Linked DNA regions of Homo sapiens: regions 1, 2, 4, 5, 6 and 7 are each linked to region 3. Evidence: promoter capture Hi-C in 16 types of primary human blood cells and fetal thymus (Javierre and others, 2016). All regions are on one chromosome and are shown on one strand. The core of a region is centred on a gene start or on the middle of the fragment in contact, and the rest is flanking DNA. Distances in the headings are between cores, read along the strand shown.

Region 1 (3,907 bases), core at 552-3,051, 6.4 Mb before region 3:
AAAATAATTTTAATAAATAAACATGAGCCAACATGATGAAGGGGAGGAAGGAGAGGAGGATGAAGGAGATGACTAATGGAACACTGATGGAGGCCGGGCGCGGTGGCTCACGCTGAGGATGGAGGCTGAGGCAGGAGAATGGCGTGAACCCGGGAGGCGGAGGTTGCTTGCAGTGAGCAGAGATCGCATCACTGCACTCCAGCCTGGGCGAGAGAGGGAGACTCCATCTCAAAAAAAAAAAAAACAGCAACAACAACAGCAAAAAAACACTGATGGATTCCAACCTTCCTTTTTTTACATTTTCTCCAGTCCCTGGGAGCAAGTTGCAGTTTTTTTGTTTTTTTGTTTTTTGTTTTTTCTCTCTTGTGCTCAGTCGCCCTGTTCTTGAGGTTTCTTTTCTCTACACTATAGTTCTCAACTTATTTTGGGGGAAATAACTTCAGCAGAATACAATGGGAAAAGAGTCTCTACCCCTTTCTGTTCGAAATTCATTTTTATCCCTTCCTGTCTGAGCAAAAACTGTATAGAATCAACATCACCCCAGCTCTGTGGGAAAAAAGAAAAACCTGCTCCCTTCGCCCTGCTGGAAGCTGGAGGGCTCTAGGCCCATGTGTAGCAGAGCATTCAATTCTAGCTTTCTTCCTGCTTTCTCTGTATATTGGGCTCGGAGAGTACACTGGGTCTCTATGTGAATATGGACAGTTAGCATTTACCAACATCTTTCTGTCTACTTTCTCTTGTTTAAAAAAAGAAAAAAACTTTAAAAAATGGGATTCTAGAAGTCAGCAAAGGGTGGGTCTGAGATGTTTGGGTGGGTTAAGCGGACATTTTGACAACATGGCTTCTCCTTTGGCATGTTTAATTGCGATGTTTGACACACATCCTTGCAGTTTAAGATGACGCTTTTAAAATAAATTCTCTCCTAATGATGACTTGAGCCCTGCCACTCAGTGGGAGAATCAGCAGAACCTCTAGGATCTTATTTGGAATTGACATTCTCTATTGTAATTTTGTTCCTGTTTATTTTTAAATTTTGTTTCACTGGAAAGGAAAGATCATGCTCAGTTTTAAATGTTAAAAGTGTACAAGTTGCTTTGTTACAATAAAACTAAATGTGTACACACACCTACGAAAAGAAAAAAACATGAGCATTTTAAAATTTATTTCACAAGGGAGCTGTTGTGTTAGCTTTCCATAGTGTATTTTCTAGCCCTCTTTAAATCACATCAGCTAATGCTTCAATAAAAAGGAAATTGTTAATTCACCTCATTACAAAGTTGATTATATACTTTTTCTTGGCCTTATCTTGATCTTCTGCTATGTGATCCATGAACAAAACCAAAGTTTGCTTAGTTTTAAAATACAGCTAAGTGGTAGCACAGAGCTTCTAGGAAAGTTGGATTTCACCTTTTCTAAACCTTTCTCTGAAAAGTGCTACCTTATTTGAATAAAAACAGATTTTAAAAAATTTTTTAAACTTTTTATTTAGAAATAATTATAAATTCACAAGAAGTTGCAAAGATAGTACACAGAGGTACTTTGTACCCTTAAGCCCATTCCCCCAATGATTACATTTCAAATATCTATATTAAAGTATGAAAACCAGAAATTGACTTGGTACATTGTGTGGGGGAGACAGGTATATTTCCATCATTTTGTGTATGTCTGTACATTTGTGTAACCACTGCCAAAATGAAGACCCACAACTATTGCAGCACCACAAAGATCTCCCTTGTGCTACCCCTTTATGAAGTCAGAACTACTTTCCTACCCCCAAAACCCCTAGCCTGTGGCAACCATCATTTTGATCATTAAATATAAAATTTTTCAATTCTAGAATGTTATATGAATAGTATCACATAGTATGTAGCTTTTTTATTTATTTATTCACTCAGCATAACCACCTGTGGAGCCATACAAGTTGTAGATATCAGTAGTTTGTTCCTTTTTATTACTGAGTAATATTCCATGGTACAAACATACAGATTCATTTTAGCATCACCTATTGAAGGATATTTGGGTTTTTTCCAGTTCTGGACTATTACAAATAAAGCTCCTATTAACATTCATGTACAGGTTTGTATTTATATTTATTTATTTATTTATTTAAAATTACAAAAATCAGCCAGGCATGGTGGTGGGCGCCTGTAATCCCAGCTACTTGGGAGGCTGAGGCAGGAGAATTGCTTGCACCCAGGAAGCAGAGGTTGCAGTGAGTAGAGATTGCGCCACTCCACTCCAGCCTGGGTGAGGAGCAAGACTCTGTCTCAAATAAAAAAAAATTATTTATTTATTTATTTATTTATTTAATAGATCAGGTCTCACCATGTTACCCAGGCTGGTCTCAAAATCTTGGGCTCAAGCAATCCTCCCCACTTGGTCTCCCAAAGTCCTGGGATTACAGTCATGAGCCACCACGCCCAGCCCTATGTAAAGGTTTTTTACATAGACACAAGTTTTTTGTTTGTTTTTGTTGGGAAGGAGTGTCGCTCACTCTGTCACCCAGGCTGGAGTGCAGTAGTGTGATCTGGCTCACTGCAACCTCTGCTTCTGGATTCAAGCAATTCTCCTGCCTCAGCCTCCTGAGTACCTGGAATTACAAGTGTGTGCCACCACACCCGGGTAATTTTTTTATTTTTAGTAGAGATGGGGTTTTGCCATGTTGGCTAGGCTGTTTTCAAACCCCTGACCTCAAGTGATCCACCTGCTTCAGCCTCCCAAAGTGTTGGGATTACAGGCATGAGCCACCATGTCTGGCCTAGACCTAAGTTTTTTTTTATCTGGGATGAATGCCCAAGAGTGCAATTACTTGATCATATGGTAAATGTACATTTTGCTTGTAAGGAAAGGCCAAACTATTTTCTAGAATGGCTGTACCATTTTACATTCCCACCACCAGTGTATGAGAGATCCATTTTCTCTGCATTCTTACCCACAATTGGTACTGCCATTATTTTTTTATTTTTGTTATTTTGATAGGCACATAGTAATTCCTCATCATGGTTTCAATTTGCATTTCCCTAGTGGCTGGTGATGATGAGCATATTTTCACATGGTCATTTGCAATCTGTGTATCCTTTTGTGGAATGCCTTGTCATGCCCTAGCTTATTCTCTAATTATTTGGTTTTCCACCATTGAGTTTTGAGGGTACTTTATATATTTTAGATACAAGTTATTTGTCAGATATGCCATTTGGAAACATTTTCTCCCTGTGTATAGCTTGTATTCTCATGCCCTTAACAGGATCTTTCTCAGAGCAAAAGTTTTTAATTTTGGTGAAGTGCAGTCTATCCATTTTTCTCTTATGGATCTTGCTTTTAGTGACATGTCTAAGAACTATTCACTAGAGCCGGGCGCGGTGGCTCATGCCTGTAATCTCAACACTGGGAGGCCAAGGCGGGCAGGTTGCCTGAGCTCAAAGGAGTTCGAGACCAGTCTGGCCAATGTAGTGAAACCCTGTCTCCACTAAAAATGCAAAAATGAGCTGGGCATGGTGGCACATGCCTGTAATCCCAGCTACTCTGGAGGCTAAGGTAGGAGAATCACTTGAACCCGGGAGGCAGAGGTTGCAGTGAGCTGAGATCACGCCACTGCACTCTATCCTGGGTGACAGAGCGAGACTCTGTCTCAAAAAAACAAACAAAAACAAAGGGCCTTTCCTGACTTTTTGAAGTTCAGTCCTCAAACTATTACTATCGCTCCTCCACCTTTTCTATTTTTTTCTGTTTTATGTATGTTGATAGTTTGCACCCCCCACTAGGTGTCACTCCATGAGGACAGGGACATCATTTAGTTCAGTGCTACATCCTTAGCCCCTAGGACATTGCTCAACCAATATTGGATGAACATTTCTCTCTGCACCTCCCTCCTCTATCCATGAGGTACACTCAGCTGAGATGGCCAGCT
Region 2 (4,227 bases), core at 1,531-4,030, 5.6 Mb before region 3:
AGCCAGGCATGGTGGCATGCCTGTAATCTCAGCTACTTGGGAGGCTGAGGAGGGAGGATCACTTGAGCCCAGGAGGTTGAGGCTGCAGTGAGCCCAGATCGCACCACTGCACTCCAGTCTCGGCAACAGCAAGACCCCGTCTCAAAAAAAATAACTTTTTGAGGGGTGGGGGACACAATTCAACCCATAGTCTGTCCTCTGGCCCCTACAAGTTCATATCCTTCCCACATGCAAAGTACATTCACCCCATCTCAACATCAACAAAAGTCAGTCATTCTAGCATCAACTCAAAGTCCAGTATCATCTAAATATCAGTTCAAATCTCATCACCCAAATCATCCACATCAATTGACTCTGGGTTAGGTTTCCTGTTGGAGCAAATTTTCTTTCTATCTATGAACCCATGAGAACAGACAAGTTATCTGCTTCCAATTACAATGGTATAGGCAGAGGATAGACACATTCCATTCCAAAAGGGAGAAATGGGAAGGAAAAAGACTTGGAGGTGCCAAGAAAGTCTGACACCTAACAGGGCCAATGACAGGATTTTAAGGCTTGAGAATAATCCTCACTGGCTTGATCCTCTGTCCTCAGGGCCCACTGGGGTTGCAGCCCCGCACCCTCAGAACTGAGGAGGTGGTGGCCGTGGGTTCAAACCCAAGCCTGTCCCTTTCAGTCCTGTGGTGGCGGAAGCAGCCTCACTGGCCTCTGAACTGCCCCTGCCAATCCCTTTCCTACCTGTGGAATCCTGGGAGTCCAACAGCCTTCCTTCATTTCATCCCATCTATGTACCCTAGTCAAAACTGTCCAGGTTTCTGTGGAGATGGGTGATTGGGTCTATAAGCCACACACCTAATCTCTTGCAAATAAATGGTTGTCCACATCCTTAGTGTTTCTCCAGAGCATACTTTCTCTCTCTCTTTTTTTTTTTTTTTTTTTTTTTTTTTTTTTTTTTTACAATGTGAGTATAAGAATGATCCAAATCTTCAAGTTCTGGTTCCTTTTTGTTGAATAATTCCACCTTCAGTGTATCTCTTCTCACATTTCACTATAAGCAATAAGGAGAAAGCAGGCCTCAGTTTTTTTTTTTTTTTTTTTTGAGACGGAGTCTTGCTCTGTTGCCCAGGCTGGAGTGCAGTGGCGTGATCTCTGCTCACTGCAACTTCTGCCTCCTGAGTTCAAGAGATCCTCCTGCCTCAGCCTCCTGAGCAGCTGAGACTACAGGCGCGCGACACCACGCCCAGCTAATTTTTGTATTTTTAGTAGAGACGGGGATTCACCATATTGGCCAGGCTGGTATTGAACTCCTGACCTTATGATCCCCTGCCTCGGCCTCCCAAAGTGCTGGGATTACAGGCGTGAGCCACCGCGCCTGGCCCAGGCCTCACTTTGAACCATCATGTAGAAATTTCCTCAGCAAAATGTCCAAGCTTATCACTTATAAGTTCTACTTTCCACCCAACAGAATACAATTCAGGCAAGCTCTCTACCACTTGCCTCCAGTTTCAATAACATATTTCTCCTTTCCATCTGAGCCGTCACCAGAATCACCTTTAATGCCCATACTTCTACCAAGGCTCTTCAAGACAATAGAGGCTTTTCTATCATGCGCCTCAAAATTCTTTCAGCCTCTACCGATTACCCAATTTGAAAACCACTTCCCCATTGTTAGGTATTTGTTACAGCAGTACCCTATTCCCCGTACCAAAAATCTGTGTTACGTTCTCCAGAGAAACAGAACCAAGAGGCCCACTGAGCAAGCGAGATTGATTGATTGATTTTAAAGAATTGGCTCATGCAATTGTGGGGGTTGGCAAGTTGGGAATTCAGGTACGAGTTGATGTTGTAGTTTTGAGTCCAAAGGCTGGAAACTCAGTCAGAACTTTCTGTGTTGCAGTCTGGAGGCAGAATTCCTTTTTCCTTGAGAAACCTGTCTTTGCTCTTAAGGCCTTCAACTGATTTGGATGAGGCCCACCCGCATTATTGAGGGTAATCTGCTTTATTTAGGCTGAGACATGAGAATGGCATGAACCCGGGAGGCGGAGCTTGCAGTGAGCTGAAATCGCGCCACTGCATTCCAGCCTGGGCGACAGGGCGAGACTCCGTCTCAAAAAAAAAAAAAAAAAAAAGAAAAAAATTTTTTTTGAGACGAACTCTCGGCCTGTCGCCCAGGCTGTAGTGCAGTGGTGCAATCTCAGCTCAGTGCAGCCTTTACCTTCTGGGTTCAAGAGATTCTCCCATCTCAGCCTCCCAAGTAGCTTAGACTACAGGCGTGTGCCACCATGCCTGGCTACTTTTTTTTGTATTTTTCGCAGAGATGGGGTTTCACCATGTTGGCCAGGCTGGCCTCGAACTCCTGACCTCAAGTGATCCACCCACCTCAGCCTCCCAAAGTGCTGGAATTACAGGCGTGAGCCACCGTGCTCAGCCAAATTTTTTTTAATTAAAAAAAAGAATTCTTCCTTACCCATGGACTCAGGTCACATTCTCTCTCTCTCTCTCTCACACACACATTTATTGCCCACATGGCTTCATTAAAATTTAAGTTCCAGAAGGATGAGGCCTTTAATTCGCGCACTACACAGGTGCTCAACACACAGTATTTTCCTTCAGTTGTAGAGAAATGAACAGTGGAGGACCCCCGCCGCTGGGTCGCACGAGCTAACAGATCGGCGGTCGCTGGCTCTCCGCTCTTCCAGCCACCCACATCACGGCGCCTAGAGGCGGGACATCCTGTGTGGACAACAGGGAGCTTCCGGATTGAGCCGGAAGTCCCCCCAGAGCGGATGCCGCGGCGGGCCTGTGGGAGCGGGGTCATCTTCTCTCTGCTGCTGTAGCTGCCATGGGCAAAAGAGACCGAGCGGACCGCGGTGAGACGTTGCGCGGGCACGCTCAGCCACGACTGCCCTTGCCGGCCCTGCCCCCCGCTCTGCCTCGGAGCTGCTCCGGGCCTCTGCGCCGGCCGACCCTGCTGGCCCTCCCGCGCGCACCCCGTTGGGACAGGCCTTTGGGCGGGAGAGATGCTGGACCTGGGCGCAGCCCAGCGAACTCGGCCTAGGGGAGACGGGTGAGGGGCGCAACGCCTGCGGGATGCAGGTGGCTCTTAGCTAGGAGTTTGCGGCGGCGCAGGTGAAATGCTGCCAAGCGGTGCGGAGGGAACCCTGAAGGCTCCTGCTGGGCTTACTTCTGTGTTGGTATCTTGCAGACAAGAAGAAATCCAGGAAGCGGCACTATGAGGATGAAGAGGATGATGAAGAGGACGCCCCGGGGAACGACCCTCAGGAAGCGGTTCCCTCGGCGGCGGGGAAGCAGGTGGATGAGTCAGGCACCAAAGTGGATGAATATGGAGCCAAGGACTACAGGCTGCAAATGCCGCTGAAGGACGACCACACCTCCAGGCCCCTCTGGGTGGTAAGCATGCCCTTAGCTTGGGCAGGGCCCAGGAGTGTGCGGAGCGGCAGCTAAATCTTGGGCATCCTCAGAGTCAAAACTGACATTCAGGATACTGCCCCTAGAACTGGCCGGGAGAGAATTTTCATCCACACACGTTGGAACAGCCCAAGGCAACAGCGAGCAGTTGCGCACACGTGTGGCGGCCGGACCTGGGCTTCCAACAGCTCTAACCCCTCGGTTTACTCTCACTCCTTCCCCAGCCCTACCCCATGTAGTGAATCCTTTTATCTGCCGAATAAATAGCATTTATCATGTAACAGTTTGTTTCCTCAAATAATGGAAGACATGTTCGGTAGCAAGCTTTTGCTCTACTTTAAATAATTAATGTTATACATTTAGTTGAAATCTAGCCAAAAGGTAACTTGAGGATAGCCAGTAAGATGGGCTTTCTCTGTGCAGAATAGTAGGAAACAGCTGTTGACTTTGGAAACACTTTCTTCTATTTTTCTTTACTCTTCTGTATCTGATTAATGTAACAGGCCCCACAGTTGTCTGAAGGAGTGCTTGCAAGAATATCTGTGGTGTTGGGCAGCTTATTCTTTCTTGATAATGATATGGGCAAGAGCCCAGTAGTCTCTGCAACTCATGTTTCCTTGTCTGTTTTGTCCATTTGGTATCTCTCAGGCTCCCGATGGCCATATCTTCTTGGAAGCCTTCTCTCCAGTTTACAAATATGCCCAAGACTTCTTGGTGGCTATTGCAGAGCCAGTGTGCCGACCAACCCATGTGCATGAGTACAAACTAACTGCCTACTCCTTGTATGCAGCTGTCAGC
Region 3 (3,967 bases), core at 635-3,134:
GTCAGAGGAAGTGGGCTGGCCTCGCTTGGCACTCCCTCCCAGGGCCTCCACCTCAGGCCCACAGGCCACTCTTCGGGCACACACACCCTGGGCCGCCTTCACGGCTTCCAGAACACGGCCGCAGCTATCCCCTGACACCAGCTGTGCTTGATCTGTCGCTCTCGCCTCACCTCCCTGCTTCCTCGGCAATCCACTCCCCACCCTTCCTCTCCACTCAGTTACTCACTAGTATAATAGTATTTGAAAGGTACAAACAGGCCGGGTGCGGTGGCTCACGCCTGTAATCCCAGCACTTTGGGAGGCCGAGGCGGGTAGATCACTTAAGGTCAGGGGTTCTCGACCAGCCTGGCCAAAATGGCGAAACCTCGTTTCTACTAAAAATACAAAAATTAGCCGGGAGTAGTGGTGTGCACCTGTAGTCCCAGCTAGTCGGGAGGCTGAGGAAGGAGAATTGCTTGAACCCAGGAGGCGGAGGTTGCAGTGAGTGAGCCAAAATCGCGCCACTGCACTCCAGCCTGGACGACAGAACGAGACTCCGTCTCAAAAAAAAAAAAAGAAAAGAAAGATGCAAACAGCCACAGCCTCGCTTTAAACCCGCCCATCCCCTCGCATTTACAAAACCCCAGTTTCATACTTTGACACACAGTCATGGGGCTCCAGCCTGCCGCCTCGCAGCTCTTCCCTCCTGTGCTGGGCTCCAACCCCACTGCCGCGTCCTTCTTTCTAGACCTAGGAACACTGTGCAGGCCTGTCCGGTCCAGCGGACGGCAGGCGCTCGGTTCTCCACACCCCGCTCTTTAGCCTTCAGGCCTCGGTGCTAACGCCACCTCCTAAGGGGGACCCTCCGGCGCCACCCAGTGTGCCTCTCCCCCACAAGCCTCTTTGGTCTCTTAAAGCAGCCATGCTGCCCTCAGGCTGTAAGTTCTCCAAGGGCCGCGGACGGACGGGGCCACACAGGAGAGCTCACACACAAGTGAGTGAAAGAATAACCAAATTAGGGCCGGGCGCGGTGGCTCACGCCTGTTATCCCAGTACTTTGGGAGGCTGAGGCGGGTGGATCACCTGAGGTCAGGAGTTCGAGACCAGCCTGGCCAACATGGTGAAACCCCGTTTCTACTAAACATACAAATTAAGCTGGGAGTGGTAACGTACAAATTAAGCTGGGAGTGGTGGCGGGCGCCTGTAATCAGCTACTCGGAAGACTGAGGCAGGAGAATCGCTTGAACCCGGGAGGCGGAAGTTGGAAGTTGCAGTGAGCCGAGATTGCGCCATTGCACTCCAGCCTGGGCAACCAAAGCGAAACTCTGTCTCAAAAAAAAATAATAATAATAATAAGCAAATTGAGGAATGAGAGCAGCATCTCAAGGACACAGGTACTGTTTTGGAATTTATTTTAGACCTTTTTTGAAAGTAGGCGTGAACGTAATTGTTTCAGGCACTCTTAAGCGAAGCCAGCCGGCGCCCCGACAGCCGAGGGTGCGGGAGCTCCCCACGGCCCAGCCCCAGCCCCAGACCCCGCTGCCGCGCCTCGGCACGCCCCTGCGCCCCGCCTCCGCGCCTCGGCGCTACTCACGCCCCGCCCTCCGCTCCTCGTCACGCCCCATGTCGCGCCTCCGCGCGACTCACGCCTCTCCCAGTCTCTCGGCACGACCTCGTGCCCCGCCCTCGCCCCTGGCGCAATTTATGCCCCGCCCCGCGCCTCGCCACACCCCGTGCCCCGCCCCCGCTTCTCCGGGCAACTCCTGCTCCAACCCCGCGCCCGACTCATGGCCCTCCCCGCCCCTCGCCACGCCTCGCCTCGCCTTAGCGCTTCGCCCCGCCCCTGTCCTGCCTCTACTTCCGCCTCGGGGGAGCTGGGAGCCCGACGTTTCCGGGAGCGCCGCGTGGTTAGCGTCGGCGGCTTTTGGCATGGCGACTTTTTCTGGCCCGGCTGGGCCAATCCTGTCGCTTAATCCGCAGGAAGATGTCGAGTTTCAAAAGGAGGTGGCGCAGGTTCGCAAGCGCATAACCCAGGTGAGCAGGCACCCTGGCCCAGGCTGCGAGCGGGGGCGATGGACCGGGTCTAGAGGGTATCTGGGGTTGCACGGTTTCCGGCCCGGGCGCCCCTTGCCTTCGTGCTCGCCTTCATTACCTCCAGGGTCTCCCAAGTGGATTCGACCGAATCAGGGACCGACCTCTTAAGCTTGCAGGCCACGGTTTCCGAGACGAAAGGGTTTACGCTGTTCGGTAAATGATGGAGGGGTTTGGCCGCTGAGGCCCTGGAGCCTTCATGTGGAGGGTAACGGGGAAGTATTGGGGTGACAGAAGCAGTAGAAAGAACCAGCTGGAGGGAATAGGCTCCTATACCACAGGTTATCTCCGGGTTAGAGCTGTCACGCTTCCGCGTTTCCCCCAAAAATGGGAGCCCCAGACTTAACACATTCGGGAAGTTTGTATGCCGGGTTGGTGATCTGGGAGTTATTAAAATAGAGTATTTGCCAGGTTCCACTTGCTGACTAGGGCCCCTGACATCGCTTATACTTTCTGTGGTTTTTAGCATAAAATACACAGGAAAACTTAGAAGTTCCTGTTACAGAGGTAAGGCTATGATGACTGAGACGTTGAAAGGCTAATCTGTACCGTGAGAGTTAACAAGCGTATCGAAAATTTTTCGATGAAGTGCGAGTAAACAGTAATATGCATACCAAATTGAAGCCTACGTTTATGTAGAGTTCTCTGGGCAGAAGATCTAAAATGGCTTGTTCAAAGATGTCCTTGCTTATCCGTTGATTGACATAGTTATTGAGCTCTAATATTATACTGGGTGCTGGGATGCCAGGCTGGAAAGATAGTTGACTACTGCTTGACCATGGCCTTTGTGGGGAGAGAAACACTAAACAGCCAGTTCTTTAATTACTACTGTGGTAAGTGGAAATGCAGAATAGGTTCTTGGGCCGAGGGCTAGGGGTTTTGTTACAATGTGATTTTCTTATTTATATATTTAATTTACCTGGTCTTTACGTCTTTAGCGAAAAAAACAAGAACAACTTACTCCTGGAGTAGTCTATGTGCGCCACCTACCTAACCTACTTGACGAAACCCAGATCTTTTCATATTTCTCCCAGTTTGGCACTGTGACACGGTTCAGGCTGTCCAGAAGTAAAAGGGTAAGATTTTTGCAGTTGGATTTAATGTTTTGTTTTTCAAATGTGTATTATCCTTGACATTAAAGAGCACGTTCACGCATACATTATTGCTTATCAGATTTCATTCCAAAAAGGAGAGTGGAGGAGGTTTAGAATCTGAAACAGCTACAGGAGCAAAATCAGTATTATTGTAAAAGTTTGTTTTTTACATTTCTCCAAATCCTTACATTAAATTGACAGTCCTGGTAAATGAGCTTTAGTATGAGGCCCAGGTTTATACATTTTCTTGTGTTAGCCTTTGGTACAAGCATCCTTATAATAGCAAAGGTTTATATAGTGAATAGTTAAAGGTGAGGACTCTGGAGTTGGACTGCTGAGGTTTGGGGTCAGGCTCTACACCTTACTAGTTAGAGTGATATGACCTTACCATGTTTCAGTGTTGTGATCTGTTAAATATAAGTAAAACTTCCTGGGAGTATTTAGTCAAAGGTTAAATATAAAGTCTTTAGAGGATTGCTTGGTACACAATAAACACTATATAAGTATAATTACTATTTGTGTCATACCTGCCTTCTAATGAGAAAACGCTTTACATAGCTTGTTTCAATAGTGGAGGAGTGACCCACTTTCTTTTCTTTCCCCGCACATAAACTTTAATTGGTTGTAGCCATAGACACCTATTTGATTTAGCATGTGGGGGATAGGGTGCACATCCATCATCTGTTAGTTGTCGTAAAGATAGATTGTAGGTAGAATTGAGGTCCCTTTTGTACCCTTCCCAGTGCTCTTCAACTTCTTTAATTAGGGAATTAAATTCACAAATTCAGTTTTCTTTTTTTTGA
Region 4 (4,245 bases), core at 1,177-3,676, 9.4 Mb before region 3:
GTCACCCAGGCTGGAGGGCAGTGGCGCGATCTCAGCTCTCTGCAACCTCCACCTCCCAGGTTCATGCCATTCTCCTGCCTCAGCCTCCCGAATAGCTGGGACTACAGGCAACCGCCACCACACCCAGGTAATTTTTTTGTATTTTTAGTAGAGACAGGGTTTCACCGTGTCAGCCAGGATGGTCTCGATCTCCTGACCTCATGATCCACTTGCCTTGGCATCCCAAAGTGCTGGAATTACAGGTGTGAGCCACCACACCCAGCCAAAATACTATTTTAAAAAGTGCCAAAAAAAGGTGAAAATAGTTGTCTATAGTTTAAAAAGGGGGTGGACAAGAGATTGATATATTTTTTTTTATTCTAAGGTTTAAAGCACTATTTGGTTGTTTTTTTTGTTTGTTTGTTTTGAGACAGAGTTTCGCTCTTGTTGCCCAGGCTGGAGTATAGTGGCGCGATCTTGGCTCACTGCACCCATCGCCTTCCAGGTTCAAGCGATTCTCCTGCCTCAGCCTCCCAAGTAGCTGGGATTACAGGCGCCCACCACCACGCACAGCTGATTTTTGTACTTTTAGTACAGACGGGATTTTACCACGTTGGTCAGGCTGGTCTCAAACTCCTGACCTCAGGGGATCCACCCGCCTCAGCCTCCAAAAGTGCTGGCCTCCAAAAGCTTGAGCCACCACGCTCAGCCTATTTGGTCTTTCAATCTATGTACATGTATTATTTTGATAAATGTAAACATGTAAACAATAACCTGAATTATCTTCAACTATACCAAAACAAAAAAACCAACCTAAATTAATCTACCTATTTGAACCTTCCAACAGTGCTCTGCTTTCGTTTTTAAATTGGGGAGAGAAATTTAGAGAGTATCTTTAGAAACCAAAAATCATGAAGTATGATTTTGATCACATTTTGTTTTGTTTTTGTAGAGACGAGGTTTCACTATGTTGCCCAAGCTGGTCTCGAACTCCTGGGCTCAAGGGATTCTTCCATCTCAGCCTCCCAAAGTTCTGGGATTACAGGTATGAGCCACTGCAGTCAGCCTATCATATGCTTTTGAAATTTCACAGAACCCAGTGTTTGGGTATAAGCTTTAGAGTTAAAAGACCTATGTTCAGATCCTGACTCAATCGGACAAGTCACGTTTCCAAGCCTGATCTATAAAACGAAAATTCCCACCACCTACTTGACAGGATGTTCGGAAAATTGGGTGAAATAATATGTAAGTAGTTGGCATGGTGCCTCACAGTTACTAGAACTCGATAAATGGTAGCTGCTTTGACAGCAATTATTACTATTTACTACTATTATTACTATTACTTATTTTCCCCCTTACCAAAATTTGCCGAAAATATTCTAGAACAAGCTTGTCCAACTCATGGCCCCAGCCCAGGTCAGCTTTGAATGCAGCCCAACACAAATTTGTAAACTTTCTTAAAACGTTATGAGATTTTTTTGCAATTTTATTTTTTAGTGCATCAGCTATCATTAGGGTTAGTGTATTTTATGTATGGCCTTCTTCCAATGTGGCCCAAGAAAGTCTAAAGATTGGACAGCCCTGTTCTAAGAACAAGGACATCAAGCTGCTTCTCAAATGGCTCAGAAGACTTCTGTTTGATTGCCTTAGCATGCTGAATTTCACACCACTCCATAACTTAATTCAACATTTCACTATTTATATCCTGGAGCAAAACTGAATGCATAAACTAAAACTCATCAGATAAACACTAAGCCCTAGCTGTTGGTCTCTAGAGAATAAAACACCAGCAAACTAGCTGCAAAAGAACATTATTTTTATGCCAATAAAACCTATGCAAAGCTTTAAAATGTAAGCCATATTCAACAATTTAAATTATTTTAAATTTGAATTTGTATCTCTTTGAAAGCATTGAATCGAAACAGACAACAGATGGACAAAAAATACTGCCTTTGGAATCTGACAGTTCTAAGCCTGAAGCCTACTTTGCCTTCTACTCACTAGTATGACCTTCAGCAAAATTCTAAACCTCTCTAAGCCTCAGTTTTCTTACCTGTATGACCAGGCACAACCAATTACGTCATGGGGTTACTGTGACAATTAAAGGAGGTATGTCCAAACAGCCCTGTAGTAGATGGTCCAAAAGTGAGAATTGGCCAGGCGCGTTGGCTCACGCCTATAATCCCAACACTTTGGGAGGCCAAGGCAGGCGGATCACCTGAGGTCAGGAGTTCGAGACCAGCCTGACCAACATAGTGAAACCCCATCTCTATTAAAAATACAAAAAATTAGCCGAGCATGGTGGCGCACGCCTGTAATCCCAGCTATTTGGGGGGCAGAGGCAGGGGACTCCCTTGAACCCGGGAAGCGGAGGTTGCAGTGAGCCGAGACTGCGCCATCGCACTCCAGCCTAAGCAACAGGAGTGAAACTCCGTCTCAAAAAAATAAAAAATAAAAAAGTGAGAACTGCTACAATTACATTACTATTTTGTTCCAAAAGCTAGAATTCAGGTTTAACTGTCTACAACTCCTCATGATATCCCAGTTCTCCAGCTCTCTTTCGCTATAAAAGTGGCTTCCTTATGAAAAAGGAAGAAAACTCATCTCTGTTCTTCAAGGGCAACAGTGGAGAGTCAAAGAGATGTCACAGGTACATTCTGAAACAGAAGGGAAAGAAGGTTGGGTGACCCATCAACATGTAGAGGTCAGTTCCCACGTGGCATTGGCCATTTCCAGTTGGGAACCACTTCTTAACAACAAGCCTAATACAAGCACCATCAAAGGGCAGACAGGCAAAGAAAGCAAAGAGGCAAGGAAGTCCAACTTTCCGTTTCCATGATCCACTGTGGAAGCAAATATATAACTAACAAAACAACTGGGTCAATTAGCCCCCACTTTGGGAGCATTTTTAACAGTGTGTTTTGCAGTTTTTGGTAGTTACTGTTATTAATAAGGTAATTCTTTAATTTCTTTAGACAAACAGTAAGAAGGCAGGCAGAGGAAAGGAGAAACAAAAATATTAATGCAAGCTGAAAAGCATAAGCAAAGCTTTCAGAAAGAGCTGAGAGAAACCTCCACCTTCCCAAGGAGTAACACCACAAGAGTATCTGTCCTCTCTATACCACTGCTGTACACATTTAATCAACTCAGTCCTTGAGAATAGCAGGAAATTTACTTACAGAATGTACCACCGCCTTTAAAATATAATGCTAGCAAAGAACCGCTGTCAGGTTCTGAGTTCTTTTCTGCAGCCTTCTTCAATAAGCATTTACTGACCACCTACAAAGTGCCAAACACTATGCTGTTTATTAGGGAAACCCTGCAACACAGTTTGATTCCTGTCCTCAGGGAGATCAGTACGAATAGGGAAGAGTCGAGTAAAGAGATCACCACCACAGAGAGTAAACACCAGGCACAAAGGAAGCCCAGACAAGCTCCAGTCCTATCAATATCCAGCCAACCAGCCCAGGGTTAGGAACTTTCTGAACCTAGGGAACACTCCTGAGCACCACAATTGAACCGTCACAGCAGTATTCCCACACCCCCACAGGTCCTTAGGCAGACACACCCACTGCATGGGCACAGACGCACAGCTGTGTCTGTGCATACATGTTTTGGTCATTAGTTTAGTCAACAAATACTGAGGGCCACACTAAACAGGCAGTTACCAGTGCCAGCTCGGGTCCTAATTCCTCATGTGACTTCGGACAAGTCACTTCCTGAATTGGTACTGGTTCATACCAAAGGCCACAGAAGACCTTGGAATATTCCTCCCCTCAGCTGTCAGCCCTCCTCCCTCGGTGGTGGTTCCACCCTTTCCTAAGCACTAAAAATTTAAAGGCTGAGACCATGAGTCAGTATTATTTTGAATTAACCATGTTCCTTTAATTTTTTACAGTGACCACTCCACCTCATTCCTTTCCTCCACCCACCCTGAACCGGTCTACATTTGAGATTTAAGCGGGGTGGCGGGGCGGGGATCCCTATGCAAATCCCTGACCTCCGGAGTTTTCAATCTAGTTGAGTAACAGAATCAAACATGAAGAGAGATATGTAAGATAAGGTACACCAAGCACTTATGACTAAAGACATTGCAAGGCCAAGAGCAGGTGAAATGCAGCGGGGGCGGACCGCACCGCGAGGGTAAAGCCTCAACGCCCCCCGGGACTTAAGGAGGGGAGACCTCTGGGCAGGAGAACTGAGAAGGCAAGTTCCCTGGAGCAGAGGGAGCAGCAGGGGTAGAGATCGGACGCCGGGAGACCCCAG
Region 5 (3,929 bases), core at 854-3,353, 8.6 Mb before region 3:
CGTCCCCCTCGCGTCCTCCGCGTGCGCCCCGGGTCGCTGGGCGCGCGGCGTCACCTTGCTGTAGAGCGGCGCCTCCTCCGCGCTGCGCGCCCCCGTCCCCGTCCCCGTCCCCGTCTGCGTCCCACTCCCGGCGCCCGCTGGAGCCCCGCGCTTCTGCACCACCGCGTAGGTGTCAGCCATGGCGTGGCCCGGGGACCCGGGCACAGAGATGCTCCTGCAGGCAGGGAGGGCCGGGAGGAAGTGAAACGGCGGCGCTGGGCAGGGCGGGAGTGGGGAGGCTGCTCAGCGCGCAAACCACGGGCTTCCTTCCCGCCGAGGCGGTGCGCTAGATGGGAGGGAGGGCTCCTTGGGTTGGAGGCCTCGCTTCTGTGTCCCTAGCGCCCTGCAAGTTAGGGGGATGAAGGAGGAACGGGGTCAGCCTGGAGGGTAATTTGGGGCAGAGTGTTGGTTTGAGGGGTGGTCATTTCTGTGTCAACGTCTACTGAACAAAAGAATGCGGAAGTGGCATAGAAGACAGGAAGGGATGGCCGCAAGGACAAGGGCCTTAAGTCTCCGCTGCGAAGGCGGCTCAATCCCATGTCCGCAGCACCCAACGTGCGGCCTGACAAGAAGGCGGCGTCTAGAATTATTTGCTGAATTTTTTTTGTTGTTTTTTTGAGACAGGATCTCGCTCTGTCGCCCAGGCTGGACTGCCGTGGTGCGATCTCGGCTTACTGCAACCTCCACCTCCCGGGCTCAAGCGACTCTCCTGCCTCAGCCTCCGGAGTAGCTGGGATTACAGGCTCTCACCAGCACGCCTGGCTAATTTTTGTATTTTTAGTAGAGACAGGGTTTCACCATGTTAACCAGGCTGGTCTCCAGCTGGGCTCAAGTGATCCGCCCTCCTTGGCCTCCCGAAGTGCTGGGATTACAGGGGTGAGCCACCTGAATTAAGGTTTGATTAGAGGATCCAGGAAAGGCCTAACTCAGAAGGCAGGGCAAGCCTTAGAGGCAGAGGCAAGGGGTAAATGAATCATCTTGGGATAATTGAATCATCTTGGGGTGGGTTCCCAGAGCTCAATTCGAAGAAAGGGCCAGCGAACACTTGGCGAAGTGAACAAGGAACGGACTGGTGTTCCAAGGATGAAGAAGGGGTTAGCCTGAGAAATTGGGCAGGGAAGAATCCGGGGATGGAGCCGGGTACCTGAGGACCCCTCCTGGTGGGCGGGGTATGGCGAGAAGTGCCTGGGGAGTCCGGAGGAAGAGGGCATCGTCGTAGAGTGGGGCACAATTCTGAAGAAAAACAGGAGGGGAGGCTCCTGAGGGAGGAAGCTGGCCAGGCCTCTCAAGGGGCTCTGGGAGAAAGCTTAAGATGGGAGAGCCTGATAAGGATGCCTGGAGGAGGGCACAGGTGGATGTCATAGTCAGTGCCTGCTCCCAGTAGTCCCGGGGGCTGGACCCTGCTCGGGGTCCTGGTCTCTGAGGGTGCTGATGGTGGACAGGAGAGTGGGAAAGGAGCCTCTGTACCTCTTTGATGTTCTGGTAGTGGGGGCTGGCATTCTGGAGTGTGGAGCAGAACATCTGAGCCACCGTGTGGTACAGGAACCTGTACTGCTCCTGTTGGGGTGAGGGACCATCAAGAAGGGAAGGCAGGGGCAAATGACAGCAGTGGGCCACTGTCCCTGAAGATTAGGAGACCCAGGGTTCACCTCTGTCTGCACGGCCGCAGGCCGCTGCTTCCTCATCTTAAGGACCACATCAAAGAGACTGAAGTCAGGTGGGATCATCTGGGGCAGACAGACAAGGCACTTGAGCAGGACACGTGGTCATGGGCAGCACACTGCACACACAGGATGCCTGTATCGTACCTGGGTCAGGAGCAGCTGCCTCACATAATCCACGGTGCACAGGACGCCTGTTCGCCCACAACCCGCACTGACAAGAGAATCAGAGTGTGCCTGGTCAGGTCCTGACCACAACCCCTTTTAGATGGGGCATTTGGGGATGGGGGTGAGGGTCCTGATGGATCCCCTGCAGAGCCTCTTGATTCCCAGAATCTTCAGATTATATCTGAACAAGGAAAACCTTTTTAATCACTTACATTTTGTTGAGCAAGAGCTGTGTGCTTATTCCCCAGCTGAGTCTGTGCTGAACAAGTGCTCACAATTACAGTCCATGGAGGGTGAGCAAGGGTTCTCAAAATAGGCACTCAGACTACAAGACTAGCCCCATGCCCTGTACTCCCCTCCATGCTCTGTCCCCTCTGCCTCACCAGACCCTCCTGAAGCCCATTTCCAAAACCTGCAGTGGACACAGAGGGGTTCAGGGCCAGATCCCTGGAGGCGACGGGCTTCCTCCACCATGGCGAGCATGTGGTCAGGACTGCTGGGGACCCCACGGTCTGGCCAGGACATATACTGTAGCTGGTACACAGAACGGGACTCCTGAAACACAGAAAAAGATGAGCAAAAGACTTAGGAAAAAAAAGAAAAAAGCATTAATTGGCCATCTACTATACACCAGGCCCACTTCTAGGCATCTTCCATTTATGTCTACCAGACAATAACTGAGGAAGTGGGTACTAGTATGATGCCCATTTTTACAGGAGAGGAAACCTCTCCCCTTTCAGGAGCCCCTTTACCTCCTCCTCCCCTGTCACAGTACCTTCTGGAATGTGACCTTGAGGGTCCTGAGCATGATGTCCTCATTCAGCCACTTCTCCTTTATCTGAGTAAGGGGGGTGGGGCAAGTAAGAAGAGGGAGGAGAACAAAGATCATAGGTACCAGAAGACATTTATAGAAAGCAAAGCATTCCTGATTAAAAAATCAAATACAGAAAACATTTTAAAAATTCATATAGCCCAAACTTTCCCCAAAGCTTTCATTAAGGAAACATTTGACACAGGAGCAAAAGAGGAACTATTATAAAAACACAAGCCCTTTTGCAATGAAAAGAGATGTCTTTTGTTCTAAAATGAAACTTTTATTGCATTTATTAAGTACTAACTGTATGTATGACTTGAGAGAGTTCCCCAAGCTCTTTTGAAATGGTAAGAGAAGTAAGAATTTCAACAACCTAACCAGGCACATTTACATGACAGAGATTAACTGATTGTAGCCAAAATAAAAATGCAAAGGCTATCCCTATAGTAAGTTCTAACTATTTGCAGGCTAACACCAGAGGGTTTCCTGCAGTATGAGTGGACTGTGGGTTAAATCATTCAACCTTTTAGGCCCAACCCAAAGCCTTTCCACCCTGGGAATCTTCCTTGAAAACTCCCACAGCTCACCAGAGTGATGCAGAAAAGCCCAGTCTGCAGTGGCTCCTGCTCCTGGGCCCAGTACCGCTCACACCTTTTCTGCAAAAGGTAAGGGAGAAAAGGCAGGGAGTGAGAAGAGGGAGTCAGCTTCAGAGCTAGCTCAATCATGCCACAAGACACCCCAGGTGCTCGTGGTGGAAGCACAGGCAGCTATACTTATAACCTATAACAGACGCCAGCCAACAGAGCCATCAGATTAAACACATGCAGACTCAATGGAGGTGCGCTGCTGACCATGCAGGGGAAATACAGTCCAGGATACCCTCCCACTGTAAGCAACTAGAAACTGGACAAAATACATGAGCCACTATTTTCAGACACTGGTTGGCAGGTGTTGCAGTACTGTGGTCACTGAACAGACCACTCCGGCTTATTGCATGGAAGTGTCACCAGGCTGTAAGACATGAGTCTAATGATCCCACTGAGTTGAGCCAGAGACCATGGCTCAAGGAGGCAAAAGCAGCTAGAATTTGCAGGGCAGAGTCCTGGAAGGAACAGAGGTATGCAAATAAAAACAAAACAATAACTTGCATAGAAGTCCCCTCCTTGATTCTTTGGTTGAATAATCTGAATATATACAACATGAAACCCCATGAGGCCAGGCAAGAATAACTTACCATGAAAGAATAG
Region 6 (4,123 bases), core at 996-3,495, 6.6 Mb before region 3:
CTCTGGCTCCCATTCAAGGGTGGGACCTTATCACAGGCACTTCGTCCCTGCCTGGGCCTCAGTTTCCCCCTTGGGACAGTGAGATCATCACAGGGTGGAGCCATGGCCCAAGTACCGATGGCTTCGTTGGCCTTCGGAGCTGCTCCAGCTTTCCCTTGAACACTCTGGGCCCACGTTCCCCCTTGGTGGCAGTGACGGTCACCAGGCTCTCAGGAGTGGCCCCTGTAGACGCTCTCATCCCTGGCCTAGGGAGCTGGGGCAAGTGCAGAGGTGGGGAAGGGGAGGGTTCTGGGGCTCACAGCAGGAATCAGGATCCCAGCTCTGCTGACTCTCATGGGGTGAGAGTGGTTGACCTTGGAACCAGGGTCTTAACCCCTTTGAACCTCAGTTTTCTCTTCTGTAAATGGATATCACAGCCTACCCCCGCAGATTTGCTGATGGAATTGGAAATGACACCTCTACAATGCCTGGCACCCAGCAGGTCTCCAAAAGAGCAGCCTTAATTATGATGTAGCACGAGGATCCTTATCTGGGTAAGGACATCTGGGGGGTGGACCCGGGGCAGCTGTGCTCCCCTAGGCCACACAGGAAGGCTCCCCAGGGCTCAGGCACAGACTGCGTCAAGGGGCTGCAGGCAGGTCCAAGCACACTGCAGGGCGGCCCCACCTGTGTCCCATGGGGACTGCACCCCCACTCCTATAGGAATGAGTCACTTCTGGAGAAGCTTGTCCAAGCTGCCCCCAGGACCCTCGGGCCAGGGACAGTTTTAAAGCAGCCTACAAGATGAGCAGGGGCTTTGGGGCCCTAGGTCCCACTGAGGACCCCACACCATGGACTCCAGGGTGCGCTGGGCTGTGTTGAGGGTTCTGCACCCGCCTGTCCACAGCGGATATTCTTGCGGTCCCTTTGGAAAATGCATGCCGCCCGCTCAGCTGGGTTTGGGGTGTTGGTTTTTCCAGCTCTCTGGGTTTGCTTCCAGGAGGGCTTTCTGGTGTGATGTTGTCTACGTTTAACAGCTTTACTGAGGCATAATTGACACCCCATGATCGCTTCCGGTCCCTAACAGAACGGAAGGCAGGGCACCACCCCGCCTCCCCCCCCACCCCGTCCCCGGCAGGGCTTGACGTGGACACTGGGAGCCCACGCCTGGCAGCCAGACTCGCTCCCAGAGCCCTCGCTGGCCTGAACCAACACACTAGGGCCCACCGCGGCCGGCCCTGCAGCTGTGAGATCCTGGCAGGTCCCAGCCCCACTCCTGCGCTTCCGACGGGCTGCAGCCTCCGAGTACTGCCAGAGCCCAAGCAGTGTGAGTGGGCACCTGGCGGGACCCCCCGCCCCACGAATGCCGCGCGTGCTTGCCAGGCTGGGCGGCGGCGAGTGAGGAGCCCGCACCACCCGGCCCACACACGAGCCAACGTGGAGCGAGCCCTCCGCAGCCAGGTTGGGCCCGGGCCGCTGGACTCTCCAACCAACCCACGAAAGACAGAATATTTGGTGGGCACTCACGATTCTTAAGAATTGGCTCAATGTTTTATAACTCTTTCATTGGAGTATAATAAACATGGATGGGGGAAAATGCACCTCGTCTGATATTCTTTTCAAACAAGGAGGAAGCCATAAAGCCGCTCCGCAGGCCTCTGCAGACAGCCCAACATCTCTTCAATGCGGGGCTGCGGGGCACTGTCCCAAAGCCAGCCGCAGGGGTGAGGGGGTCGAGCAGGAAAGGAAAGCCTCGCTTTCCCTCTCGGTCCTGGTGGTGGGCGGCCCCCGCCGCCCTGGTCCCTGGAAGTGCAGCCCAGTAGGCTAGCGTCTAACTTCAGCGCCCCAGCGTGCAAGGTCAAGGCCTTTCCTCCCGCGCGGGCTGCGGGGACGTGGGCGGCTGGGACTTGGGGAGGAGGGGGTACGGACCCAGGCTCCAGAAGCGCCAGCCGCCGCGCCCCCTCACCGCGGCCCCCGCCAGGAGAGCCTCCCACGCCTCGGCTCCGCACTGCCGGTTGGTCCCCCACTCCCCTGAGGGCGGAATCACTTCCCAGTCGCTGGCTGCCCGCCTGCTAGCGGCCTCGCCACCGCAGCAGACCCAGGTCCCGCGCCCAGCACCCGCGGCGAACCCCGGCACTCCGGAGGCGGGGCCGAGGATCGGCGCGGGCGGCGACGGCAAGAGACGCCACGGGGGCGGGCCAGGGGCGGACCGGGGCGGGGCGGCGGCGGCGGACTGCGGAGACGCGGCGGCGCGCGGGGCGGCGCAGAGCGTTCTCGGCGCGGAGTGGAGCGGAGCGGGCTGGTGCTGGGGGCGCGGAGAGCGCTGTGCTGGCCGGGGCCGGGAGCGGGGCCGAGCGGGAGCGGAGTCGGGCGTCGGGCCCGGGGAGCCGGGGCCGGGCGGGGAGCAGCCATGGCACCGCGGAGGGTCGGGGCCCGCGCCGCTGCGGGCGGCCTGGGCGCCGAGTAGCCGGGCCGGGCCGGAGCGCGGGCGGCGGCGGAGGCAGCTGCGCCCGCGCCTCCTGCCCTCCCAGGCCCCGCGCCCCGCGCCCGGGCCCCGGCGATGGTGACACATGCGGCGGCGGCGCGCCGGCGGCAGGACCATGGTTGAGCGCGCCAGCAAGTTCGTGCTGGTGGTGGCGGGCTCGGTGTGCTTCATGCTCATCTTGTACCAGTACGCGGGCCCAGGACTGAGCCTGGGCGCGCCCGGCGGCCGCGCGCCGCCCGACGACCTGGACCTGTTCCCCACACCCGACCCCCACTACGAGAAGAAGTACTACTTCCCGGTCCGCGAGCTGGAGCGCTCGCTGCGCTTCGACATGAAGGGCGACGACGTGATCGTCTTCCTGCACATCCAGAAGACGGGCGGCACCACCTTCGGCCGCCACCTCGTGCAGAACGTACGCCTCGAGGTGCCGTGCGACTGCCGGCCCGGCCAGAAGAAGTGCACCTGCTACCGGCCCAACCGCCGCGAGACTTGGCTCTTCTCCCGCTTCTCCACCGGCTGGAGCTGCGGGCTGCACGCCGACTGGACCGAGCTCACCAACTGCGTGCCCGGCGTGCTGGACCGCCGCGACTCCGCCGCGCTGCGCACGCCCAGGTGAGCGCCCGGGCGGCGGGATCCTCGCGCAGCTGCGCCCCCGAGGCCGGGCCGTATGCCCGCCGTGCTGTACTGGGTCGGCCCTGCCTTCCCTACCCCCTTCTGCCCTCTTGGGGGCCCCCACTCGCCGGCACCCCTCCCGACCTGCCGAGCGCCCGAGGCTCCCAGCTCCTCTGGGTGAGCCGGCTGTCACCGCGCTTTCTGACCTCGCTCTCACTCTCTTCCTTGCCTTGTGCTGCCCTACTGCCGGCTTGACTGCGCAGCGCCCGGGTTTTCTCCAGGGTCCCCGCCCGCTGCCCTCGGGCCACCTTACCTGCTGTGCGCCGTGAGGTCTGGCCCGCCGGACTTGGGGACGCGGGCTTCTGGGTGTGTGCGTGGCCTACCTGGAGTGTTGGCTTCCCCGTGCCGCTTCGGTGCTGTGGTCCCAAAAGTGGAAGTGAGAGTAGTGAGGTGCCGCCCCTGTGCCTGGAGTGCCTGCCTTCAGAGGGTGGGGGAGCTGCCAGGGAAGGGGGCTGGCTCTGCCCGCCTGCCTGCCGGTGTGTGCAGGTAGAACAAAGGCCCTGTTGACCTGGGGCTGGGGGCGGGGAGGAGGCAGTACCGCCTGTCCTCCCAGTGGGGCCTGCCAGCCGAATTCTTCCAGGCACAGGCTTGCCTGGAGAGAGGAACAAAAGCCACCCGATGGGGGACCACCTTCCCCAGGAAGCTACCAGCCAGGTTGGGGGTAGTTGAGCTGGTCCAGGGAACCTGTGCTGCCACACCCCTTCTCTGGGGTCCCCCAGCCCCATGTCAGAGCTGAGCTGCGTGAGGACACAGAGCATGGGAGGGGTGCCGGGGCAGCTCTTCTGGGAAGCCGTTTGTAGGGGAACCTGGGGTGCTGCTGGGTTTCCAGCAGTTAAAGTTGGGGTTATTTTCCTCCTGTTCCTGTTGGTGCCCATTCGTCCTGCAGGGATGCCCTGCGGGGCCTTTCTCCCCAAAGTCTGGGCTGGGAAGGGCCAGGAGCAGGGCTTCTTGTCTGCCTTTTGTTTCTCTTCCAAATTTGCCTTAGGA
Region 7 (4,045 bases), core at 19-2,518, 5.8 Mb before region 3:
TCTCCCCTTTCTTCTCTTCCCACGTCCTCTTCAGGAGCCTATAATTGGGCTCTGCCAGCATACTCTGACTGGCTAACGAAGGGTCAGATATCTGCAGTAGTAACAAAAGGCTCTTTTTCTACATGTCTACACCTCCTGGGGAGTCTTTGCTTAAACCTCTACTGGCCCTCCTCCGATCCAAAGGCAAGAATGTTCCCCTCTCTGTCCAAGACTAAAATGAACAAGTAAGGAAATGGATTTTACTCAGCCTATTGCAATAGGGAGAGCACTCCAGATATGATCAGTGTCTTGGCAGCGTAGTTTTGACTTTTATAGGGAGGAAGGTGGGATGATTGACAGTTGGGATTGTTTTGCAATCAGGAGAAGTTTCAGTCAGGTGAACAGGAAATGTTCTCTGTGTCTAACAAGTTGGGGGGAGGAGAGTTCTAATCTCAACTAATCACTCGATATCATCAGCGGGAATTTGGAAGGTCTGTTTGGCTTTATTAACAGGCTCAGAATAAAGGGGAAAGGTCTCTGGCCTTGTCACAGGCAAACAAGGGGGTCATCTGCACGCGTTTTATCTGAGTCACATGGAGACGGGTGGTTCTTTACAGTGTGCCGTTCCAGAAACACAAATAGATGAGGGGGTTTCTTAATCACCGCTGTTTTCCAGGAACACAGGGCTCAGGTAAAGTTCAACTTCACCTTCCTCCGGTGTTTCATCAGGGGAACCCTTCTGGAAGCAAAGACGTGTACTTCTTACTGTTGGCTAAATGGCTTCTTAACAAGGAAATTAAATCGTTGTTTAGAATGAAAGAGAGGAAGACGCCGGGAGAGGAGGCGCTGTGGATCGCGCCAGTTAGTAACGCATCACAGCTCGCGGGCGTCATACTACAAGTCCCAGTGAGCAACGCCCGCTTTCTTGCCTACTGCGGGCGGGAACCAGGCGCCTCTGGGCCTGACGGGAAAGACAGTGGTTTGGCTGAATGACGGAAAAGTCATTTGAGCAGGTCTTCATTTTTCGGAAGAGTATCTCAAAAGCTCTTCAAACAAGGCACGGACACAGAATCTAGGAAATGATAAAGAATCAATGATAACGTTATTACCACGGGGGTCAGACCAGGATCCACCCGAGGAAGGTATTTAACTAAAGCCCGAGTTCCAGCTCAATTTTCCCAGGAGTCTCCTTTCCGGCCGTGCCTGGCGTCATTGCTGTTGCGTCTTCTCATTGGCCGGTTGACGGGTTGCGGCGCCTGCGCGCTGCATTCCTTTGAGGGTCGTGGGCAGACGCCATTTTGGCCCCAGCGGTGCTTCTAGGAAGTAGAACGCCGGCTCGCATGCCTGCCCGCCCGCCAGCCTGCCGGGTACGGCCTTTTCCGCCGGGGCTTCCAGGTCAAAGAATTCGCCTTTGCCGCTACCGCTTTCTTACCCTCCGCACCCGTTAAGTTCTCCGGTCGGGCGGCAGTCTCTGAACACTTAGCCGCGCCATCCGGGGTCACACCGCCTGGAAGGAGGTGACGGGGGCGGCGCGGGGCGCGGACACTCCCCGCTGAGAGTCCGCCTGCCATGGACTCGGAATATTACAGCGGCGACCAGTCAGGTGGGGCAGGGACCTGGGGGACCGGGCTGGGAGGCGGAGCAGTTACTCGGCGGGGCTTGGCCTGGCACCCCGCGGGTGGGGGCAAGGAGGCCCCCCGAAACCTTCCCTCCCGCGACCCGGCCCGAGGAGGGCAAGAGCCCTCTGACCAGCTGCAAGCGTCGAAGCTAGAACGTTGGAGAGGGGATTCTGGTGGGAAAGCTTTCTTCTGAATCGGCGAAGGTTTTTGCTGAAATTGGGAAGTCACTTTCATATGTTAAGCTCCTATTGTGTGCAGGGAAGGAGAGGTGTCTTCTGTTAAGAGAGTTTTCAGTAGTTGAGTAGTTGGAGAATCCAAGGGGCGTTGGGGCGGGGGATCCTTCCTAGACTTTTCACTGCTAGTTAGGAGTGGTTTAATCTTGCTTGCAACACCGGACGTAAGTGCAGGACCCATGTTTCAGTTGCATGCATAGAGTAAGGAATGCGCTTCTGGCACTTACTGGTGGTTTTTGTGCCTTTCCTCCACCTTGAGATCGTTCCTCTTCCTCCTCACCGAAGTTTGGTCTCCTTTCTTTACTGTTTGTTTATTCTGTAAGCTGTTACTGGGGCCCACTCTGCTGGCACGGTGCTTGGCACCTGAGATTAAGGATAAGTGAGGCAGAACCTGGTGTGGGAAACACGTCGCATTTGCTTTCCCTTTGTGTGCTAGTCCTGTTGGGGCGTTCTGTTACAAAAGTTCTTAAATACACCATAAATAAATACACCCTCTATGTACCCACAAAAATTGAAAATTAAAAAGAAAACTTGAGTGCTTAAATAATTGTTTAAGCGTTAAGCCCTTTACTGTTTTGAGTTCATTGCTTTTCCTTACGTAGGACAGTGAATTCTAATGACTGCAAAGCGTTTTCCAGGCATGCACTGCTTAAAAACACTTTCCTAAGCCAGGTGCGGTGGATTATGCCTGTAATCCCAGCACTTTGGGAGGCGTAGGCGGCCGATGGCTTGAGCCCAGGAGTTCGAGACCAGCCTGGGCAACATAGTGAGACCAACACCACCCCCACCCCCCATGCCCGTACCCCACCCCCCTACGCCCCTACCCCACCCCCCTACTTCGTCTCTACAAAAAAATGCAAAAATTAGCCGAGTGTGGTGGCATACACCTGTAGTCCCAGTTACTCAGGAGGCTGAAGTGGGAGGATCCTTTGAGCCCTGAGCCCGGGAGGCAGAGGTTGCAGTGAGCGGAAGTTGCACCACTGCACTCCAAGCCTGGGCGACAGAGCAAGACTCTGTCTCAAAAAAAACAAAAACAAAAACAAAAACAAAAAAACACTTTCCTGATACTTTCAGAATAGTTTTTTTTCCATTCATTTGTGTTTTTAAGTTACTTTTTAAAAAGTAGACCGAGCACGGTGGCAAACACCTGAGGTCAGGAGTTTGAGACCAGCCTGGCCAACGTGGTGAAGCCCATCTCTACTAAAAATACAAAAAATTAGCCAGGCGTGGTGGCGGGCACCTGTAATCCCAGCTACTCAGGAGGCTGAGGCAGGAGAATCACTTGTTGAACCCGGGGGGGTGGAGGTTGCAGTGAGCTGAGATCACACCATTGCACTCCAGCCTGGGCCAAAAGAGCAAAACTGTGTCTCCAAAAAAAAAAAAAGTAATTATATGTAATACATGTATATAGGTTAAAATACGATTTTACTCTGTATTTTTTAAAGTATTGGGGCTGGGTGTAATCCCAGCACTTTAGGAGGCAAAGGCAGGAGGATTGCTTGAGGCCAGGAGTTTGAGACCAGCCTGGGCAACATAGCAAGACCCCATCTCTACAAAAATATAAAAGAAAGTTAGGTAACAGTTTGTATTTACCATTTTATATATGCTTTTCTTGAATGGATTTTCACTAGTTTTGGACTGGAGTTCCTTGTGTTCTTCATTTGTAAACAAATACTTACTGTATATCAGGTACTAGGCAGTGTTCTGGGCTCCAGAGATTTAGCAGTGAACCAAAATCCCTATTCTTGTGGCATTTTCTTTCAGGTGAAGAAGACCCACGTTAAACAAAATAACTTCAGGTAGTATATTAGAAGGTGATAAATGCCATGGAGAGAAAGACCCAATTTTAACATGAAGTTGAAATAAATTGTTGACTTGGTGTTTAGTGTTGTTTCTTAAGCTACAAATTGTTTTTATGGTGTAGTTTTGCTGCCACGTATTTCACAGTACATGTTATGCTTGTTGGTGTTTGTATGAGTATTGTATTACCTTATTCAAAATATTAGCAACTTTAGTTAATGCTTCCTCAGTGGTAACTTTTGCACTTACGTTATTCTTGATTCAGTGTGTTCATTTCACTGTAGATGTCATTCATCTTACACCATAAGTTGGTTTTTGTTTTGTTTTTAATCAGATGATGGTGGTGCTACCCCAGTACAGGATGAACGGGATTCAGGGTCAGACGGTGAGGATGATGTAAATGAGCAACACTCC

What was found. The method cuts DNA at HindIII sites, captures the fragments that hold promoters and counts their contacts. A CHiCAGO score of 5 or more calls a contact.
Region 1: a contact is called between a fragment that was not itself captured here and the fragment with the promoter of NIFK in region 3, in 4 of 17 cell types (activated CD4 T cells, naive CD8 T cells, non-activated CD4 T cells and 1 more). The highest score is 12.9, in activated CD4 T cells.
Region 2: the fragment with the promoter of ERCC3 here is called in contact with the fragment with the promoter of NIFK in region 3 in 4 of 17 cell types (naive CD8 T cells, activated CD4 T cells, non-activated CD4 T cells and 1 more); the score reaches 7.6 in naive CD8 T cells.
Region 4: a fragment that was not itself captured here is called in contact with the fragment with the promoter of NIFK in region 3 in 2 of 17 cell types (total B cells and fetal thymus); the score reaches 11.5 in total B cells.
Region 5: a contact is called between a fragment that was not itself captured here and the fragment with the promoter of NIFK in region 3, in 2 of 17 cell types (non-activated CD4 T cells and total B cells). The highest score is 17.4, in non-activated CD4 T cells.
Region 6: a contact is called between the fragment with the promoter of HS6ST1 here and the fragment with the promoter of NIFK in region 3, in 1 of 17 cell types (total CD8 T cells). The highest score is 8.5, in total CD8 T cells.
Region 7: the fragment with the promoter of IWS1 here is called in contact with the fragment with the promoter of NIFK in region 3 in 2 of 17 cell types (non-activated CD4 T cells and naive CD8 T cells); the score reaches 8.3 in non-activated CD4 T cells.

Annotation. Positions count from the first base shown.
Region 1 is chr2:128,086,324-128,090,230 of GRCh38, reverse strand. No RefSeq gene overlaps it. Among named protein-coding and RNA genes, the nearest start is that of UGGT1, 2.9 kb to the left of the region's middle. The HindIII fragment of the contact is 4,939 bases long and covers 1-3,907 here.
Region 2 is chr2:127,292,697-127,296,923 of GRCh38, reverse strand. It overlaps ERCC3 (ERCC excision repair 3, TFIIH core complex helicase subunit), which reads left to right and starts at 2,780. Exons shown (of 15, transcript NM_000122.2): 1 at 2,780-2,870; 2 at 3,206-3,411; 3 at 4,078-4,227. The coding sequence starts at 2,843. The HindIII fragment of the contact is 2,323 bases long and covers 1,433-3,755 here.
Region 3 is chr2:121,734,792-121,738,758 of GRCh38, reverse strand. NIFK (nucleolar protein interacting with the FHA domain of MKI67) reads left to right here and starts at 1,884. Exons shown (of 7, transcript NM_032390.5): 1 at 1,884-2,013; 2 at 3,009-3,146. The coding sequence starts at 1,909. RefSeq lists a silencer at 1,398-1,847 and an enhancer at 1,948-1,997. The HindIII fragment of the contact is 3,379 bases long and covers 1-2,184 here.
Region 4 is chr2:131,105,852-131,110,096 of GRCh38, reverse strand. The region is part of intron 1 of PLEKHB2 (pleckstrin homology domain containing B2); the gene reads right to left. Among named protein-coding and RNA genes, the nearest start is that of PLEKHB2, 2.6 kb to the right of the region's middle. The HindIII fragment of the contact is 1,206 bases long and covers 1,824-3,029 here.
Region 5 is chr2:130,368,542-130,372,470 of GRCh38, reverse strand. It overlaps PTPN18 (protein tyrosine phosphatase non-receptor type 18), which reads right to left. Exons shown (of 15, transcript NM_014369.4): 6 at 3,270-3,338; 7 at 2,644-2,706; 8 at 2,281-2,423; 9 at 1,848-1,914; 10 at 1,689-1,766; 11 at 1,507-1,596; 12 at 1,184-1,272; 13 at 1-214. Among named protein-coding and RNA genes, the nearest start is that of PTPN18, 14 kb to the right of the region's middle. RefSeq lists a silencer at 1-287 and an enhancer at 14-641. The HindIII fragment of the contact is 1,512 bases long and covers 1,348-2,859 here.
Region 6 is chr2:128,316,990-128,321,112 of GRCh38, reverse strand. HS6ST1 (heparan sulfate 6-O-sulfotransferase 1) reads left to right here and starts at 2,245. Exons shown (of 2, transcript NM_004807.3): 1 at 2,245-3,076. The coding sequence starts at 2,550. RefSeq lists silencers at 1,903-2,312, 3,007-3,236. The HindIII fragment of the contact is 4,073 bases long and covers 727-4,123 here.
Region 7 is chr2:127,523,712-127,527,756 of GRCh38, reverse strand. It overlaps IWS1 (interacts with SUPT6H, CTD assembly factor 1), which reads left to right and starts at 1,268. Exons shown (of 14, transcript NM_017969.3): 1 at 1,268-1,582; 2 at 3,966-4,045. The coding sequence starts at 1,549. RefSeq lists enhancers at 669-738, 979-1,028, 1,289-1,348, 1,879-1,938, 1,949-2,028 and 1 more and silencers at 774-947, 1,589-1,698. The HindIII fragment of the contact is 4,097 bases long and covers 1-1,782 here.